Linked DNA regions of Homo sapiens: regions 1, 3, 4 and 5 are each linked to region 2. Evidence: promoter capture Hi-C in 16 types of primary human blood cells and fetal thymus (Javierre and others, 2016). All regions are on one chromosome and are shown on one strand. The core of a region is centred on a gene start or on the middle of the fragment in contact, and the rest is flanking DNA. Distances in the headings are between cores, read along the strand shown.

The links. Contacts are between HindIII fragments. The CHiCAGO score rates a contact against its expected background, and 5 or more counts as called.
Region 1: a contact is called between a fragment that was not itself captured here and the fragment with the promoter of DNAH11 in region 2, in 1 of 17 cell types (naive B cells). The highest score is 7.2, in naive B cells.
Region 3: a contact is called between a fragment that was not itself captured here and the fragment with the promoter of DNAH11 in region 2, in 1 of 17 cell types (total CD8 T cells). The highest score is 5.9, in total CD8 T cells.
Region 4: a fragment that was not itself captured here is called in contact with the fragment with the promoter of DNAH11 in region 2 in 1 of 17 cell types (activated CD4 T cells); the score reaches 5.7 in activated CD4 T cells.
Region 5: a fragment that was not itself captured here is called in contact with the fragment with the promoter of DNAH11 in region 2 in 4 of 17 cell types (non-activated CD4 T cells, erythroblasts, fetal thymus and 1 more); the score reaches 6.4 in non-activated CD4 T cells.

Annotation. Positions count from the first base shown.
Region 1 is chr7:22,012,398-22,015,097 of GRCh38, reverse strand. No RefSeq gene overlaps it. Among named protein-coding and RNA genes, the nearest start is that of CDCA7L, 68 kb to the right of the region's middle. The HindIII fragment of the contact is 2,006 bases long and covers 299-2,304 here.
Region 2 is chr7:21,541,730-21,544,599 of GRCh38, reverse strand. DNAH11 (dynein axonemal heavy chain 11) reads right to left here and starts at 1,561. Exons shown (of 82, transcript NM_001277115.2): 1 at 1,004-1,561. The coding sequence starts at 1,354. RefSeq lists a silencer at 1,640-1,689 and an enhancer at 1,738-2,239. The HindIII fragment of the contact is 2,819 bases long and covers 1-2,244 here.
Region 3 is chr7:21,229,673-21,232,372 of GRCh38, reverse strand. No RefSeq gene overlaps it. Among named protein-coding and RNA genes, the nearest start is that of SP4, 200 kb to the left of the region's middle. The HindIII fragment of the contact is 450 bases long and covers 1,153-1,602 here.
Region 4 is chr7:21,281,105-21,283,804 of GRCh38, reverse strand. No RefSeq gene overlaps it. Among named protein-coding and RNA genes, the nearest start is that of SP4, 150 kb to the left of the region's middle. RefSeq lists an enhancer at 2,191-2,692. The HindIII fragment of the contact is 219 bases long and covers 1,245-1,463 here.
Region 5 is chr7:21,249,185-21,251,918 of GRCh38, reverse strand. No RefSeq gene overlaps it. Among named protein-coding and RNA genes, the nearest start is that of SP4, 180 kb to the left of the region's middle. The HindIII fragment of the contact is 1,878 bases long and covers 464-2,341 here.

The DNA of each region.
Region 1 (2,700 bases), core at 52-2,551, 470 kb before region 2:
CTACTAGGCACCTAATGGTTGTACATGGAGCAAGAGACCACCCTGACAATGTGTATCACATCCATCAGCACATTGTCTTCCCTTCATCCTCCATCCTCAATCCTATACTTTCCTGTTTCCTGAGTAACCTTCCTCCCACATATTTGCTTCTTCCACAGCTTCTTCAACTGCTCTTTCCTAACTGCTTCCTTTCTGCTTCTCAACATGTTGCAAAAAAAGTCTTTTTTTTTTTTTAACCAAAACAACCACAAAAGCCAACCAACCAACTGACTAAATAAACCAAAAGACATCATAAGCTTGCCCTTAGGACTCTGAATTCCTGGAAACCTCGGCAGGTCCAGTCCATCACAAAATAGGCCTACCCTCCTAGTGGTGAGATATGTATACAGTCAGGTCCAGAGGAGGCCGTACACTTTTCTTGACTGAACCTTTCAGCCCAGAAAAGCCCACTTTCCATGAGTGTCCAAGAATCCCCTTGCCCTGAGTCTCCATTATCCCTTTACCTCCCATGTGGGTGCAGCAAACATCCCCTTTCTTGCACTTGGATCCATGCAGCAACCCCCATTTGTCCTAGGTTGTCAAATTCTTCCATTAGAACACCTTCAGTACCAACAGCCCTCCCACTGCTCATCACATAGCTTTGATGTGTGTCCTTGCCAAAAAGCCCCATCCTACAAAGCTGGATGCTAGGGAGGGATAATAGCGGGTTCACCTGATCCAACTGCCCCTTCTGGCCAATACTACCCTTTGCCCCTGCCTTCCTGGGGTCATGCTCCAGCACCCTTCTGAGTGTATAGTTTCCTTGGCTTCCCTTTTGTCTGACTCCCTGGGCACCCCTTCCACATCTGCTCCAGGGCTCTCAGTCATCCCTTCTTCCTCACCCCCTAAACATTTCCAGTGCTTGTGACTTTAAAAATTCCCCTTTCTTCTCCCCATAAAAACTTCCATTCCCATTTCCTTGGAGAGGCTGATCTCAGCTACATATTTCACCTAAAAGGGAGATTCTGTGTGCTTTATGGCACAGAAATGGCTAAGCTGCAAATTCTAACTATTCATATTTAATAGCTTCTGCCTGGTATGCTAGGTTCAGAGTGCTTATGGACTGTGACTTCGCCCAGACTCAAACCAGCTTGTCAGGGAATCATCAGATTCAGTCACCTCTCCAAAAGAACAAGGTGCCAACATTTTTCTTTGGCATTGTGTTTAGTGGGCATCTGGTCTTAGCATTGCTAAGTACCCAATTTCACCAAGCCAGTCATGCGTTCCCACATCATCCACTAAAGCCAGAAGTGAAGCAGGAGAATGCTATGTTATAGTATGCACTTGTGTGCGTGTGTAGGAAAACACACACACACACACACACACACACACACAGAGCTACTGCGGGAAACTAACTCAGTTTGGGAGTCTTATTGCAACATGGAGGAAATGCAGCAAGGTCACATTAAGGTTTTTAAAAATACATGATACGTTTTCATTCTTTCCTACTATAACTGCAAAGTGCAAAAGCTACAGTTCTGTATTTTAATTTATTAACTATGCTGTGTCCTTAAATCTCCATTTACTTTTCATTCTTGGCACCGACTCCACTTTTGTGAGTGCACTTGTGACCACCTCTTGCTCAGGTGGTAGATACACCATAAAGTTGTGGCAACAGAGGCCTTGTCATCTTGCGGTCATCATCACCACGATTTGGGAGTGCCATGGTGGGACACGATTGAAGAGCTTCAGCACCAGGCGGTGTGAGGTGAGGGTGTCATCCTAAAGGGGCTACAACTACATGAAATGATAACTAAAATCTCGTAGTAGTATAGAAGTGACATGGTAAATAGGCGCAAAACCATGAACAAATACATGTGGATCAGAGCAGAGAGACAGAGAGGCAGAAAGGACTTCAGGGTTGAGTATGAAGGTATTAAACCTGGTGGGTTATTAACACATCTAAATAAATAAGCTGTTGATCAAAAAGGAGAGAGGTCAACAAAGAGGACACAACCCAGGAAGAGTTTGAAGACAATGTCTGGCAGGGTCCGTTGGAGCACTGCCCAAGACAGAAACCAGTGTGATTGCCCATCTAGTGCGAGGATGGAAGAGCGGGCCAGCAGAGACACGCCATTATGTACTCAGAGCTTCTCATTCTTTGCTTACCATGCAACCGCCTGGTAATTTGGCCCCCCCATGCTGCTTATGATATAACGTGGAACAATTGTACTAACAACCCTTCCATCCAGTCTCTTTGGAAGTAATATTTTTTATAATAATTTTTATTGCATTCTTATTTTATACATCACTCTCTTGTAAGCTTTTTAATGTGAGTCAGCCTCCCTAACAGTGATCAATTCTGGGACTTTGTAAAGGTCAGAGCCCTCTGAACTTCCACAGTTGAAGGCCAAACTTTATACCCAGAGCAGAGATTGCTATTTGTTTCTTAAAATATATTTCTCCTTCTTCTGTTACTAACTGTACTTCTAAATTTTAGCTGGCTACACGGCCCCAAATAATAAAAACCATATTTCCAAGCTTCACTGCTCTATGTGGCCATATGACTAGGTTCTGGCAGAAGAAATACAAGTGGAAGTGATGTGTACAACATCCAGTTCATGTCCTTAAAAGGAAATAATGTGCCCATGTCCTCTCCTTGTCCTTTTTCTCTTTCCTACTTGCTGGAATGTTGACAGGTAGACTCAGATGAGATGAAAA
Region 2 (2,870 bases), core at 312-2,811:
TAATTTGTATTTCTATCAAAGAATAGAACCGTATAACCAAAACATGCTAACATTTCCACAACTACTGAGTCATTCCATTGAACATTATAATAACTATTTAACTTAGGTAATACTAGAGTTGTGTTCTATCGCCTTGTCTACTGACAAACTTATTTTTTTTAAAGTTACAATTAGGAGAGTCCTAAAACAAAAGAATTCAAAATTCACAATACCATAAGGCAGCCTTCCTATTACTCTTTCTTCTCTGAGATCCTATTTCCCAACTATTACAATGACCACACCTAGTGATAAAACGACATAACATGTTAAACTGAGCATTGCGCTACTTAAAAATTGTGAATCTTGCTCCAAACTCATCATACTTGAAAAATACTAAATACAAGTGCTGTACGTTAGGTGATACGTTAACCTTTTAGTGGACAAATCATCGAAATTCAAAAAGAAAAGGAAGAAAAAGAAGAAAGGAGGGAACTGTTCCCTCTAAATGTTCAGTAAACACCCATGTGTGCGGAGATTGCAGGGGCCTTCCTTTTTAAGGACTTAATGTTTTTGCCTGGGGTGAAGTGTTGTTGGCACGTAATCAAAATACGTGACGAGTTACATGCGCTCTGCCAAACACCCCATTTTTTAAAGGATGTGACTCCAGAGTGACCCAAGAGCAACTGAAACGCAAGTTTTTTGGCACAGAAAGCCCACCTGGCGCCTAACACCCAAGCAGCTAAAGAAAGCGCTGGTGTTCTTGGGTTATCCTGGTCGAACAGGCTCAACGCGGGATTCTCGGTCAGATACAAACTGCTGACTTAGGAAACTAACCTGCAGCTGCTGAACTGCAGAGTGGGTGCACGTGGGGAGGAGTCCTGCGGGCCTCAGGATGGGGACTTCAAGCCAAGTTTGTTAAAGTGCCCGAGTGAGCGCCCCGCGGGAATCCAAAGGGGAGCGACTGGGCTGTCTCCCCTGGGTAGTTTTGTTGGATGGGCAGGTCCCCTTGCCCGTCGCCTCTTACCTCCTGGGAAGCCGCAAGGCGCCCCGAGGCGGCGAAGCTAAACACAAGGCAAGCCGGGCTGGTGCTTTCCAGAAACTCCCCAAGAACCTGCCGGTTGTCCTCGCTTTCCAAATACTGGCTCCATTTCTCCTCCGTGAACCCCAGCATCATCGCCAGGCGGCCGCCGAGGAAGCGCACCCGCGCGTCTTGGGCGAAACTCCGCGCTCTCCTGGCCGCCGCCTCCTCCTCGTTCTCCTCCTCCTCCTCGAGCTCCACAGCGCCCACTGCCTCCAGGCCGGCCCCCGAGGTTAGGCGAAGGGTCGGGGCTTCTCTGAAGTCTCGCGCCTCCCGGGCTGCCACCTGGGCTGCCATTGGGCAACCGTCCGAGGGAACGCGAGGCCGGCTGGCTCCTCACCCGAGACTCTGGGCCCCCCGAAGTGAGCGAGGACACCTCCGCAGGCGCCCACCCTCCTCCGCGGTCGCCGCGAGCGCAGACCCTAGTCTCCCACCTGCTGCTACTTAGCAGCCGCGCCACTGCGCACAGCTGTAGCCTCGCAGGCCGAAGCGAAGGCCTGGGACAAGCAGCGCGTCCCGTTTCCCGGGGGACGGTGTCCCCGCCCCAGCCCGCTGGGGGCGGAGTGAGCGCACCGCGCCACCGCCCAGTATACGCCAAGGCCAAGGCCGAGGGGAGAGGCCCTCGGGCTCTAGGTCCCGAACACGGCCGAGAAGCCGCGTGTCCGGGGTGGGTCTGAGCCCCCAGTGCGCTCGCTCCACTGCCCTCCGGCTCCTTCGCCTACTGGACACTTGGTGGAGATCCCAGCATTGGTTAAGTGCTCTGGATGAAGCAATGCTCTCTTGTGCCAAGGTCCGTGCTAATCTCTTACCTTGACTAGTTGACATAATCCGTAGAAAGCCAAGTCTCTGACTGGTCAGTCTTTGTTTTATGGGCAAGGAACTAAGTTACAAAAATAAGTAACAGAGAAGTTTCGGGGCCCAAGTTGAAGGCTGTTATTCACCTTTCCCAAGGTGTCCAAATATTACCAGAAGAGAGCCAGTCCTGCAATTCAACTTTCCTAGTTGTGGGAATCCAAGATCTAAGTATTCGAAGTCCTCCTGATTGCCATCCTCAACCTGAAACTTACTGGAACTTCAGTACACCCAGTAAGAGAACGCACAGTGCCCTTTCGTGATCTCCAAAATGTTCCGAAAATCTATAGATTTATCATTTAATTCAAGAGTAAAAAGGTCAAAGAGAAAAAGCTTCAGATTAAAAACAGTTTCATGATACTGAAATAGGATTTCACTGCGGTCCATTAGTGGCTTTCGTTGAGACTCTTATGGAAATTCTAATTATTAAAGCAACCAGAATTTTGAGGAGGAGTCCTCAACTAAACTTTTAAGTCTCCTTTGTTAATTGTTTATTTCAAACTAAAGTCTTCAATCCCCACCCCTTCCATGGGGGCTACTGAAGGACTGTTGCCCACAATAATCCATTTAATACCTGAATGTTGACAGACATTTCCAGAAGATGAGGCTTCAACAATTTTTTTCTTTGCAGGATATTAACTGCCCCTGAAAACCATCGACAAGTTTCCAGTTATGTGATCAGAATCTTGAAATAACACAGGGCCTTGGAAAACTTTGATAATGACTTCTAACCTGTCAAGGCTGCTTTATATTGTCCATAATAATCTTTGGGGCTCCCAGTTGCTGGTATACAAGGCTGGCAATCACCAGTTCCTTCTCTCCCCTCTTATATTCCAGCTTCACATCCCTGTAACCTAGAAAACCGGGAATTCTGTAAATAATAGTTGAATTAAATTGAAAGTGAATAACCACTTTCAAATCTAGCAGGAAAATTTTTTAAATGATGCTAACTTTAAAGTGC
Region 3 (2,700 bases), core at 128-2,627, 310 kb after region 2:
GTTCATATCCTTTGTAGGGACATGGATGAAGCTGGAAACCATCATTCTCAGCAAACTATCGCAGGGACAAAAAACCAAACACTTCATGTTCTCACTCATAGGTGGGAATTGAACAATGAGAACACTTGGACACAGGAAGGGGAACATCACACACCGGGGACTGTTGTGGGGTGAGGAGAGAGGGGAGGGATAGCATTAGGAGATATACCTAATGTAAACGACGAGTTAATGGGTGCAGCACACCAACATGGCACATGTATACGTATGTAACAAATTTGCACATTGCGCACATGTACCCTAGAACTTAAAATATATATATATATATAAAAAAGATATGCATTACCTTACATACTTTTTTTGTGTGTGGTGAGAACATCTAATATCTGCTCTTAGCAATGTTCAAGAATAGGATATATTGTTATTAACCATAGTCACAATATTGTATAATGGAGCTCTTGAACTTATTCCTACTATCTAACTGAAATTTTGTATCCTTTGACCAACATCTGCTGCCTTTTTTCAGTCAAAAGCAAGTCATAAATTGGCCAGGTGTGGTGGCTCACGCCTGTAATCCCAGCACTTTGGGAGGCTGAAGCAGGTGGATCACTTGAGGCCAAGAGTTTGAGACCAGCCTGGCCAACACAGTGAAACCCTCTCTCTACAAAAAATACAAAAAAAATTAGCCAGGTATGCTGGTGTATGCCTGTAGTCCCAGCTACTTGGGGGGCTGAGGCATGTGGATCGCTTGGACCCCGGAGGTCAAGGCTACAGTGAGCCAAGATGGCACCACTGCACTCAAGCCTGGGGAACAAAGTGAGACCCTGTCTCAAAAAAAAAAAAAAAAAAAAAAGCAAGTCATAACAAGTCATAACTTGAGTCCAGTTGGAGAAGGACTGGGGAAATAGACTCCACCTCTTGGTGGGAGAGAAATGGCAAAGAATTTGTGGGCATCTTCAATCTACCACAGTAGTTATATTTAAAAATTTGAATTTATGTACCTAAAAACAAAACAAAACAAAATAAAGAAAAAATTCCTTTCTATATTATGGTTGTCTGTAAGGACCACATGCTGTTTTTGGTTTCTTTAACCAAATTGTCTTTCCATGAGACTGAGGGTGATGGGATATGGAAAGGTGGTAAGTTGTTTAAGCTTCTTGATAAAAGTGCTGTCTTTGTTTTCTGTTTTCTGATATTTATACAATTATTCCTCTATTAGTGGCTTTTATAATTATTGGGAGTGGGAAAATCTTGAATAAACTGTATAGTAGTCTGGGTATATTAAATTTATCGTATTCTGAGACCTGTATTTCTTTACTTCTTTAACTCAATAAATATTTATTGAATTAGTTAAAAAATTTCTTTAATTCTTGAGGTAGTAACAAACACCGGGAGGCGGAGGTTGCAGTGAGCAGGGATCGCGCCACTGCACTCCATCCTGGCGACAGAGCGAGCTGGGTCTCATAAAAACAAAAAACAATGACCAAGATCCACTCTTTTTAGAAAGGACACACAGTGATTTATGCTTTAAATCCTTGCCTGACTGAAACTCTTGGGACAGGCGTTAATATCCAGATTTTATGTGGAACTGTTGTTTCTCAAGCTTTTAAAAACATTCTATAGCTTTCACCCTTTAAAAAAAAATATATTTCCATAGGTTATTGGAGAACAGGTGGTGTTTGGTTACATGAGTAAGTTCTTTAGTGGTGATTTGTGAGATTTTGGTGCACCCATCACCCGAGCAGTATACACTGCACCCTATTTGTCGTCTTTTTTTCCTCACCCCCTTCCCACACTTTCCCTTGGAATCACCAAAGTCCACTGTGTTATTCTTATGCCTTTGCATCCTCATAGCTTAGCTCTCACTAAAAGAATGAGAACATATGATGTTTGGTTTTCCATTCCTGAGTAACTTCACTTAGAATAATAGTCTCCAATCTCATCCAGGTGACTGCCAATGCCATTAATTCATTCCTTTTTATGGCTGAGTAGTATTCCATTGTATATATATACCACTTTTTCTTTTTTCTTTTTCTTTTTTTTTTTTTTTTTGAGACGGAGTTTCACTCTTACTGCCTAGGCTGGAGTGCAATGGCACGATCTCAGCTCACCGCAACCTCTGCCTCCCAGGTTCAAGCAATTCTCCTGTCTCACCCTCCCGAGTAGCTGGGATCACAGGCATGCACCACCACGCCCAGCTTATTTTGTATTTTTAGTAGAGAAGGGGTTTCTCCATTTTGAGGCTGGTCTCGAACTCCTGACCTCAGGTGATCCACCCACCTCGGCCTCTCAAAGTGCCGGGATTACAGGCGTGAGCCACCATGCCCGGCCTATATATACCACATTTTCTTTATCCACTTGTTGATTGATGAGCATTTGAGCTGGTTTCACATTTTTGCAGTCGTGAATTCTGTAGCTTTCACACTTTAGTTTTTTTTTCAATTAGTGTTGAAAAAGTGAAATTGGGACACTCTGATTGTTGTTTCTTTCTGATTTATAATTATATTATCCCCCTTTGTTCTTGAATTTAAGTTTTGAAAAATATGACTGTTAATTTAAATGTAGGTCCTTTTAATTAATTTTGCCTGGATCCAGGTGAGTCATTTCAAGTCATGATTTTTCTTCCAGAAACTTTCCTTCTTCTATTATATCCTTTACTATTGCTTCATTCATTATTACTCTGGTTTCTGGCTTTGGAAAATT
Region 4 (2,700 bases), core at 105-2,604, 260 kb after region 2:
TCTATGATCAGACAGAAGTTAAACATAACCACATGTGGGCTGGAAAGGGGGTAGGGGTGACAATCATCTCTGAGGCAGCTGGAGAGAAAAAGAAAAGCAGTCCCTAACATGGGGAACCGGCCTGACTCTCACAGCTGTGTCTCTGTGACCTGGCATTCACAGCTAGACGTGTTGTTCTCAGGTCTCTCGGAATTCTAACATCAGATAGGATCACTCTTTGAGTGTGAAGAAGTGACACCAAACAAGCAACAAAACAAAAAAAAACTTTATACTCTTATCTAAGCACAGATGAAAACACTGTATTCATCATTACTGGTTCACTGTGTAAACCATAAAATACCAAACCTCCCCTCTCCCAGCTAATATGAGTGAGGGGTGCTTGTCAATTACAGACTTGGCCTCATTTTTAGTCTTCCCTTATTCTAGATATGATTTAAGATACCCAATCATAGAGTTACCCTGCACTTCCTGAGAGCATCCAATCCAGAGCAAAGCCCTGCTTCCTTGGTCCCTCCCTCAAATTACCTAACACCCATTCAAATGCCATAAATGTCCTTTCTAACACTCTCTGAGATGCCCCACAGTTCCTTATGGGCATGCATTATCCATTTGCAAGAACAAGTAATTCAGCTTGCCCAGCTCTAGGTTTGTTCCTGGTAGACTTTGGCTGGAGAGCATGGACCTTAGTATGGGAACTCTGCTTCATAGTTGACTGAGCCAATCAAGCCATTCCTTTTTGGGAACATGAAATGCTAGGTGGGCAAAGATAAAAAGTGAGGGACTCAAATTCAGGTGATGATCCAGATGCTTGAAGAGAGTTGAATTTTGCAATGTTGAGAATTCTAGTACCAGAGTGAATGTAGGGTCAAAGAAAAGACATCATATGCTACCTCAGATTTTCATGGATTATCGAAAAAAACCCTCAGGGTTTCAGATATCTTATGCCTATAGAGAATCTAAAACTGAAAAGAAGAAGCAATTGCTGACTACCTTGGATATTTGGACTGAAACTCTGGCTTTTTTTTTCATATATTTGAAAAAGATTTCCAGAGTATGCATGGTGTTCCGAGCATTTTTCCAGGAAGTGCAGATATAGCAGCAAACTAAACATACAAGCTTCCCCTTTGTTCTCTTGGATTTGCAGTCATGTCCTGCTTAACAACAGGGATATAGTCTGAGAAATGTGTCAGTTGTTAGGTGATTTCATCAGTGTGTGAACATCATAGAGCGTAGTTACACAAGCTTACAGCATATGGTCTAATACACACCTACGCAAAATGGCACAGCCTATTGCTCCTAGGTTACCAACCTGTACGGCATGTTACTGAACTGAATACTGTAGGCAACTGTAACACAATGGTAAACATTTATGTATCTAAACATAGAAAAGATACGGTCAAAACATGACATAAAAGATAAAAATGGTACACCTGTACAAGAGGCCACTTAGCATGAATGAAGCTTGCAGGACCATAAGTTGCTCTGGGTAAGTCAGTGAGTGAGTAGTGAGTAAATGTGAAGGACTGTAAACTTTATTAACGCTATACATTTAGGCTACCCTAAATGTATAAAATATTTTTCTTCCTTTAACAGTAAATTAACTTTAGCTTACTATAACATTTTAACTTTATAAGCTTTTTAATTTTTTAAATTTTTTTATTCTTTTGTAATAACACTTAGATGAGAACACAAGCACATTGTACAGCTGTACAAAAATATTTTCTTTCTTTATATCCTTATTCTATATGCTTTCTCCTATTTTTAAAATGCATTTATTTTACTTTCTAAACGTTTTTTGCTAAAAACAAGATGGAACACATTAGTCTAGGCTTACACAAGGTCAGGATCATCAATATCACTGTCTTCCCCCTTCACAACTTGTCCAACTTGAAGGTCTTCACAGGCAATAACAGGCATGGAGCTGTCATGTCTTAAGATAACAATGCCTTCTTCTAGACTACCTCATGAGGGACCCGTGTGAGGCTCTTCTTGAGGAAGTTTCACTCTTTTCAGAAATATGGCCATGATGATTTGCTTGGTTTGTTTCATTTTTTCATTACAGATTTGCTTGCAAGCAGATAATGCACCATGAGCAACCCTCTATTAATGAAAACACTTTGGAGTTGGGATCCATGTTTTTAAACTTTTTAAGAAGCTGTTAAGAAGCTTGGTGAGGCCTGCAAAAGCTTCTGCTAAACCCTTCACTGTGAATCTTCTTGGGGGTTCTTCTTTTTTCTTCTCTTGCAGTTTCCTTGTCTCTTGCCTCTTCTTCAGCTGTGGGTTTCTGTTCCAGTTCCAACAACTCCTCATTAGCTAATTCCTCAGAAGCCACCTGCAGCAAAGCCCCAATATCATCCTCATCCACACCCATCTCCAACCACAGCCTCACTGATTTTGCAATATCCTCATCTTTGGCAAATCCTTTGAAGCAACTGATGAATGTTGAGTGTCTCCTCCCAGATGCCATTCAAACACTAATTGGTGACATTACCCCTATTCCAAGCAAGGCTCTTAACATAGCTATAGATGATGTAATCCTTCCAGAATTGCATCAGTGTCTTCTCAGTGTCTTCCTCAGTTTCACCATAGGCTGGGCAAGGACCCAACTCAGGGAGTAGGCCTTAAAAGCAGCTATAAGTTCTTGATGCATTCATTGGATCAAAGAGGTGGTGTTTGTAGGAAGAAACACCACTTTAATAT
Region 5 (2,734 bases), core at 153-2,652, 290 kb after region 2:
TGAAATAGCTAACAAAGATCAGTGTCTAGATTTTTGTGGATTATGATATATATTCTTAATAATCAGCATTTCATGAATGCAGAGAGAAGTGATATTTACAATGATGTTTCTCATACAATGAAGAAAAGACCCTATGTTGATTTCCAGATTAACATTTCTTTAATTTCTTAAAGAAAGATGTATATCTTTAAGAACAAGTAAGCAACCAACACTCAGAAAATGCAAGCTATCTAACCAGAGAGAGCTTTGCATGATGGCATTTTCCCTGATCGCTGCTGCCCATGCCTCTGTGGACTTTGTTCCTCTATGTTTGTCATCGTGGAGTGCAACTTGTGTGATGTCATTGACACAGCCAGGAAAAAATACCAGTCCCTATTAGCATCCAGAGCTGGCAAAACAAAGTGACTTCTCAAAGAATAGTACAAAACCATTTTAAAGCAGATCTCCTGAAATTTACTAAGCTTCAATCACATCAAGGTTTCTGAAGTTATGACACAGGCTTTAAATGTGTTCATAAAAGTAGCTGATTCTATTCTCTTTTCTGCCAGCAGAGATCACATTTCTCAGCCCTATCTTACTCTCTCCTTATGTTAAAGAAAAATAAGACCAGATTTTTGCGTATAGAAGATCCTGTGAGGAGTTTCAGCTTCCAGCACCAGGAGGCCCCTATGTTAATGTGAGGGGTTGTTTTTGTTGTTGTATATGTGTTTGATTTTTATTTATCTTTTTGTTTTGGCTTGTCACTTGTCTGGGAACTAAAATCAGGCAGCAGCATTAGGAAGTAAACCCTTGTAGGGAACTATATTTTCCCCCTACTACTTGACTCTGCAGTTTTCATGGGGGTGCCGGGAGGCAGGGCAGGGGTGGGGGCGCATGTGGGGTGGGCTGGGGAACTGTTTATCTCTTAAAGCACCTAAATGTGTCTTAAAGTAGAAATGTCTAAATACTAGTTAAACCTCGCATTATCTCTTCACTATTTCTCATTTGTGATGTGAACAGAAAACCACAGTTTAAAGAATAACGTCTTTACCAGGGAAACGTTCAACGATGTGGTACAATTGCAAGAGTCCTAACACTTTGAGAGTTATAATTTAAAAAATATTTTAACTAACACTAGCATTGCATGATCCCAAAGCAGAAAATGAGAAGGACAAGTGTGCAGTTAATGTTTATTTTTCCAGTACATTGAAAGATAATTCAGATGTTTTCTATGAAACCCCAGGCAGTGAGAATATTCAGTTCACAATTCTAATGTTGCAGAGGAGACAGATGCATTTTTTTCTCCTATGGTTTGTAACTCCAGCTACATTTAATAGGAACTGTGCATCAAGGTGTGGGAGAAAAAGCAGACTCCTGTTCTGTAGCTTTGAGAATTACCGACTATTCAGAATCTCCCTGACACCTGGATACAGTGGGGCAGGTTAAAAATGTTGCTTCCTGTGAATTCGAGGCTTTTGCTTTTTTCAACATTCGAGGCAGGCTTCTCATATACAAAAAGTACTTCAAAGGTATGCAATGTATTTTTTTGCTTGTTTGTTTGTTTAGGTTTGCAGTTCTCTCTTGCACTGAAATAGATTTAGTAAGCCAGTGTTGATTACCTTGATGTGGCCTGTTTAATAGCGGCAGATTCTGTTTTGCCACTGGTGGCAAACAATTTAATTAGGAACACAAAATAGCTGCCTGTTTTATTTCCCCCCTGCAAGTGTCTGCTCCTTGTCTAAGAATAAGAAACTACCACTGTAAAAATCTCTTCCTTTGAGCTGTCTCTAATGAAACTTCGCGATTCCACTTGTTTCTCTAGCTTTCTCTGCAACAATTTATTCTTTCTTTCTAAACAGTCCTTTAGGTATGCGAGGCCATTTGTAAATTACATAGTGTTCATAATATCATGAAATATCATGACTGCAGTTTATGGGCAGATGAAGGGGGATGAGTTGTAACAAGCATAGATGACACAAAATACATTGGGAGAGGAGTGAGGGGACACTGGTGCCAGCACAATTATTAAACTTTGAGTGGTACTTAATGAAGACACTAAATTAAGTGACCTTACCAATGGAGAGAGATAGCAAATGGGATTCTTAGGGAATTATCTTCCATTATCTTACAAAGAAATGAGGGGACACATTATCACAGACCAAGATGAAGAAAGTACGGATGAGCTGAATATTAGCAAATAAAGCAGTTTTGCTGAAAAAACAATGATCCCTTTAGAGTTGTCCTGAATGTGGTATATAAAATCACACGCTGTTGAAAAGAATATAATTTATGGTTTGGGGAGACACATTTTATACCGAGTTTTGCCTTTTTACAAACGTGTCTGGCCTAAGGCAAAAAAGCTTTTATTGTTTCTGCGATTAGTATAAAGTTCTGAAGAACACTGAGAACTAGAAAACCAGTAACATGCTATAGATTTCTCTCTCTGCCTTACTTAATCTGTCTGTGAAATGGGGTGGTAAATTCTCACTAACCTTTAGAAACTAAGTGAGGAATTATGAATACATGGTTGGATATATATCGGAGAAGATAGGCATACGTATGTATATATGTATATTTGCTCCCAGATGCCTTTCTATTGCAGTAGAATTAATATAGAGTAAATGACCAAATTTTACATGTATAGCTCAATGAGTTTTTGCATATGGATACACCCTTTTGACTACTACCCACATCAATATTTTCATTGCCTGGGAAAGGTCCCTCCTGCCCCTGTTCACTCCTCCAGAGCGAGTCA